Regions from separate parts of the Homo sapiens genome. Here region 2 is linked to region 1. Evidence: promoter capture Hi-C in 16 types of primary human blood cells and fetal thymus (Javierre and others, 2016). All regions are on one chromosome and are shown on one strand. The core of a region is centred on a gene start or on the middle of the fragment in contact, and the rest is flanking DNA. Distances in the headings are between cores, read along the strand shown.

Evidence for each region. Contacts are between HindIII fragments. The CHiCAGO score rates a contact against its expected background, and 5 or more counts as called.
Region 2: a fragment that was not itself captured here is called in contact with the fragment with the promoter of TNR in region 1 in 3 of 17 cell types (naive B cells, total B cells and endothelial precursors); the score reaches 8.3 in naive B cells.

What each region holds. Positions count from the first base shown.
Region 1 is chr1:175,742,078-175,745,036 of GRCh38, forward strand. It overlaps TNR (tenascin R), which reads right to left and starts at 1,518. Exons shown (of 23, transcript NM_003285.3): 1 at 1,149-1,518. The HindIII fragment of the contact is 6,381 bases long and covers 1-1,859 here.
Region 2 is chr1:175,451,370-175,454,328 of GRCh38, forward strand. All of the region lies in intron 2 of TNR (tenascin R), which reads right to left. Among named protein-coding and RNA genes, the nearest start is that of KIAA0040, 260 kb to the left of the region's middle. The HindIII fragment of the contact is 4,322 bases long and covers 1-2,959 here.

The DNA of each region.
Region 1 (2,959 bases), core at 268-2,767:
GTGTGGCCAGGACTGAATGGGGCAGGGGCAGGCCTATAGTGTCTCCAAGACAATACCAAAGCAGATGCAGGGAATTGACTGAACATACTTCAGAGAGGCAGAAAGCAGGAGAGACAGAGTAATACCTTGCAAAAAGTAGCAGCAGTGAAGAAAGAAGTAATAATGAGCTCCTGTTTGCAGAGCCTCTCAGTGCTGGAGGAGAACAGAGTACCACTTCAAGCCCTCCTGAGTCTGGGACAAGTCTAATTTTGTTTCTGCTCACCCTAGACATATAGAGACAAACCTTTATTCTTAGTTGTTTTTCACTGCCAAATGCCCCAGAAAACAGGGCAGAACAGACTTTGTCTTCTTTCCAACCACCCATAGCCAAAGATGGCATAAAAGTGGAGGGTACCTCCTGCCTCCTTGCAAATGTAATATAACCCACACCAGCCAGTCTCTGCAAAGCTCAAGACACTAGCACTTTCCTACCACCATGAAGTCAGAAGGGACCTCAACCCCCCAAAGCCGCCCCAGCCTGAGCTTCACCTGTTGCACCTGCCCACTTACCATGGGTTCACACCAGAAGAGAAAGTAAAAGGTCAGGTTGGGCTCTCTCCACAGCAAGAGCCCAGAGAATACTAGGAAACTGACATTTTACAAAGCACCTCTTTAAAGCTCTCTCAGAGGTGCGTAACTTTTAACTCTACCTCCACTCCCAACCCCCCAGGCTTCCTTTGCAACTCTTTCCCACCATGGATGGCTTGTCGGGAGAGAGTTAAAGAAGGTGCACGACTAATTCCCCAAACCATCTCGCTTATCTACAGACAAAAAGAACAGCCTTACATGGAGACACGCAGAAACCACCCGCAATTTAGCTCAGACCTCACCTGTCTTATGCAACAGTACACACACACACACACACACACACACACACACCCGCAAGGCCAGAGTCCAATCCCCCTTTAATTCGGTAAACATAGTTTTGCGCCTTTCTTTTCCCTACGCAGAACCCGACTCTACTGGCAGCAGAGAAATAGATGTAACCCTAGTGCCAAATGCCTTGCAGAACACACAGATACACAGGAACCAAAATGCATCTCATAGCTCTCCTTGGTGCTGAAATCACGTTAGCCAGAAAATCAAAGGAGCGAGTGCTCTGGACTTACCCAGGCTGGGGGTGGGCGGCCGGGGAGCGAGAGGAGCTTCCTGGGAAGAAAATTCTTGCTTGCTCAGGCTGGAGCCAGCTGATGCGCTCACCTAGAGAGCCCTCCTCTTTCCCTTCTCTTCCCTTCCTCCTATTCTGGGAGGAAGAGACAAGGCTCCACGAAAGAAATGAAACCCAAGCTGTCAGGGCTACGGGTGGAAGGAGAATGAGGAGGCAACCAAAATAAGATCAAAAAGTCAGGTGGCTTCACTCCACTAGTGGTAATTCCTTGGGTCAGAGAGGACCCCCTTCTCTCACTCTCCCTGGGTCTGCCCGTCTCCTCTGGGTGTTGAGCCAACAGCCTTAGCACAGTCGGTTCCTGCCTCTGACGTGAAAGAGAGGAGGAAGCCTGGGACTGCTTTGCTGTCTCTCTCTCTCTCTCTCTCTCTCTCTCTCTCTCTCTCTCTCTCTCACGCGCTCTCTCTTTTCCCCTCTTGCTGAAATTTCAGCAGCATGATTTTTTTAAGCCTCCGTTTTTTCCATCCCCCTACAAGCAGCCCCCTAGTGGACAGAAAAGAAAAGCATCCTAAATCCTCTTGAACAGTCCAGATTCAGGCACAGAAATACTCCCCGCACCCAACTCTTGGAGCTGCCTCTGCATAGGCAGGGTCCTGAAGAAGATAGAGGCTTCCCTCTGACCAACCCAGATAAGAAGAGAAAGGGAGAGGATGGAAGCTTTTGCAGATCCTTTGCCCATGATTGAAGGAGAAATCCAGGGTGGAATGGGTTGGGATAGAATGTTTTGGAATAAGGTCAGTTGTGGGGTTCTCAAGTGGTTTGAGGTCCGGGCTCAGCAGAAGGAACCCTCCAAAAAGTCAGCGTCTGCAGCCAGGTGAAGTATGTGTATACGTAGCACAACCCAGGCATGGGAATGCCTAAAGAGGCAGAGGATACAGGGAGCTGGCCCTTCATCCAACTCCACAATATAGCTTTTTTGTAAAGCTAGTAAGAAAAATATCTGAAAAGATATGGCCTGAGATCATCTCAGAAGTAGAGACAGAAGTGACCTTGATGCACATTTATGGAGAACCTTGGCAGAGAAGGGGCATCAAGGGGTCACTGCTCATAGGCTCATAAGGGATATCTAACATTCTCTTTTAAATGTACAGCCACACAGCCTCCCGGAAAGAGTCCTAATACTTACATCTAAAAATCTGAGTCCTGGTTTCAGACTGCCACTTGCTTACTGGACATTTTGCTTCTCTATGGCTCAATTTTACTGTTTGTAAAATGTGGATAATGCTGCCCCCTCCCTACTGAATAGGAATGCTAAGGGACTGGAATGATATAGAAACATAGAACCTCAGGATTGGCAGGGAATTTAAAGGTAATCTTATACAAACACTCTTCTTATATTTGATTCACTCCTGGCAAATAACAATAGCTAACATTTATAGAGTGTTTATACCAGGTGCTAGGCACTGTTATAAGCCCTTACATGTATTAGCTCATTTAAGCCATACAATAACTCTATAATGCAGAGGCTATTATTGCTACTCTATAGACTGGGAACTGAGTAACAGAGGAATGAAATAACTTTCCAAAGATCACACAACTAGTGAGTGTCAGGGATGGTAATGGAACCTGAGCCATCTGACCCTGGAGCTTCCTCATTGAATTACCATGTTCTATAAATGTACACTTCAGGAGTGACATTTGAAGTAAATAGAAGATAGCACCACAGTTATCATTGCTTTTATTTATGACAAAGTGCCTAGATTGTTACAATAAATTTATATGTGGCTGAGTTTTTAAAATAAAATATTTACCACT
Region 2 (2,959 bases), core at 244-2,743, 290 kb before region 1:
CTTCCCCCACCCCACAACAGGCCCTGGTGTGTGATGTTCCCCTTCCTGTGTCCAAGTGTTCTCATTGTAAGGCACCTGGTTAGTAAGAGGGGTGATCTAGAAGCCAGCCGCCAGCCTCCAGGCCTCCAGTCTGGTGCTCTGCCATGCCATGTGGCTTCCTGCAGGGGAAGCCTCAGTTACATCTCTCCAATAGGGGATTTTGTCACTGTGGGACTAGGATTGGGGAGACACTTTTGGATACGCCGTCCCAGAGGAGCAGACATGTGGAACCTGCTGAAAGTAGTGCGGCGGCTGGCATTCCCTCAGCCCTTTATGGAGCCCGTCTATCTCAGCAGCAGGTAGAGCTATCTGCTCCCAGCTTGGCAGGATTGTAGCTCTTACTGATGAAAGAGAAATCAAGCCAAGCCTGAAAAATGACTTAGCATTTTGAACGTTGGAGAGACACAGACTAATGCGTTCTCTCCTTATATGTTATATGGTTCAGTGACTTGGCTGTACTTCTATAACGAATTGCTCTGGTTGTACCCAGCCAGGTCTTACCTGTCATCTCTGAGCTCTCTGGGAATACAAAGCCTGACGTGGCTGAGAGTGGACATGTGCTTTGGGTATTATGTCAAGTGTGCTGTGCCATGCCACATGTTTCTCTGTCCCAGGCTCCCACTCAGGGGCAACCAACGCAGCAGCCAAAAGAGAGGAAGCAGAAGTTAGCAGCTGAGGTGAGAATGTAATGGGGACCAGCATCGTGCACCGGTGCCTCCCTTCTGTCAGCTTCCTTTGAGGTCCCAGGACCCCTCTATTCTGCTACACTTTCACTCTGGATGGTCAAATCAGATATTCAGACTTAAGGAATCCCACAAGCATTGGGAATGCCTCCTGTGTGCAGGCACTGTTCTGGGCTCTGAGGCTCAGCAGTGAACAAAGCGCCCTGCTCGAAAGTCTAGCGGGGGAAATGACAATACACAAGAGTAATGTGATAGGATATCAGGGCTGTAACTTTTACAAAGAAAATAAACCCTGGAAACAGGGCCTGGGGACTGCATGGGCACAGGGGGCTGCTGCAACCCAGGTGGACGGGGGGACGGCTGTCGGAGGAGGAGGGATTTCAGCAGAGACCTGGATGGAGAGAAGGAGCTGGCCACACTCAGGCCTGGGGAAGATTTGGTGCAAAGGCCCTCCCAGGCCATGCTTTGGGTGTGTGAGAGCTGGGCAGAGGCTCACATGGCTGTAGCCTGGGAAGTTGGGGGGACAAAGGTGACAGAAGCTGGGACCTGTGGGGCCTAGTGGATGAGGGAAAAGAGTTTAAATTGTGAAGTTTGGAAGAACTGTAAGGGAGTAAAGAGTGACGGGAACTGATTTGTATTTTTAAAGGATGACCCTGCACACTACTGTTTGTAGCAGCATGATTCACAATAGCCAAAAGGTGGAAAAAGCTCAAATGTCCATTGAGGGATAAATGGAAAAACAAAATGTGGCATATATATACCATAGCATACTATTCAGTCTTAAAAAGGAAGGAGATTCTGACACATGCTACAACATGGATGAACCGTGAAGTCATTATGTGGAGGGAGAGAAGCCCTTCAGACAGGGGGCAGCGGGAGTTACCGTGTAATGGATGCAGAGATGCAGCCAGCATGATGGAAAAGTTCTGGAGACAGATGGTGGTCACGGTGGTACAACAATGTGAATATAGTTAATGCCAGTGAATTATACACTTAAAATTGTTAAAATGGTATCTATTTTTATATATCTCTTACCAAAACAAAAGACAAAAGAGAACCAAAGACAACCCTGCCTTCTGTGTGGAGAATCTAGAGAGACAAAGGAAAGGATGAAAACGATACTTACAGAAAAGTTGCAAGAATAGGGCAGAAACTCCCACTAATGCCTCATCCGGATGATTGGTGACGTGTTTTGGAAATAAAGCTGAGCCAGACTTGATGCTGAGCCAGGTGTGAGGGCTGAGGGAAAGAGAAGTTTATGGTCTGTCCCCTGGAGCCATAGAAAGTTAGATGTGGAAGGGAAGCAACTGAGTCACAGACTGCCAGGTACTAGATCACAAAGATGAGCCCGGAGAGGGGAGGGGACCTCTCTGGGGACACACAGGTTTCTGCAAAGGGCCATGATGTGAGCTTAGGTTTCTAACTTGCAGTTTTTTGGTTTTTAAACTTTAATTATTTATTTATTATTTTATTATTATTATTTTTCAGAGACAAGGCATCTCTCTGTCATCCAGGCTGGAGTGCTGTGGCGTGATTATAGCTTACCACAGCCTTGAGCTCCTGTGCTCCTCCTGGGCTCCAGTGATCCTCCTACCTCAGCCTCCCAAGTAGCTGGGACTACAGGCATGCACCACCACACCTGGCTAATTAAAAAAGTTTTTTTTAGAGACTATGTCTCGCTTTGTTGTCCAGTCTGGTCTCGAATTCCTGGCTTCAAGTGAGCCTCCTGCCTTGGCCTCTCAAAGTGCTGGTGTTACAGTCATGAGCCACTGTGCCTGGCTGTTTTTATTTTTTTAAATCAAGGGTGAAACATTTTCATTTTAGCCATATTTCACCTTTATGAAAAGGTCAGCCAGGTGGTGAGAAAGGGGTGGACAGGGTGAATTTTTTCCAGAGATGGGGCCCTGCTGTCCTCACAGGCAAAGGAAGATGTGCTTAGGCCTAGTACTGTTGCAGCCACTCAACAGTTCCTCAGTTTCTCCATCTTCTAAATGGGTCTGGTTGTCTGTCTGTTGGGGTTGGTCTAGTTGTCTGTCTCTTGGGGTTGTTAAAAGGGTTTTAGTAGACAGAGCTCTATCCAAAACATCTCCCATGCTCCTAAATGTCTTCCACGCTTCTTGCCACAGTGTGTGAAATTCCCATTGTTAGAATCATTCATCCAGATTACAGGCAGAGGCCAGAGAATGTTCAGGAGCTGCTGGCCATACTGCATTCATTCATCCATTCATTCACAGTGT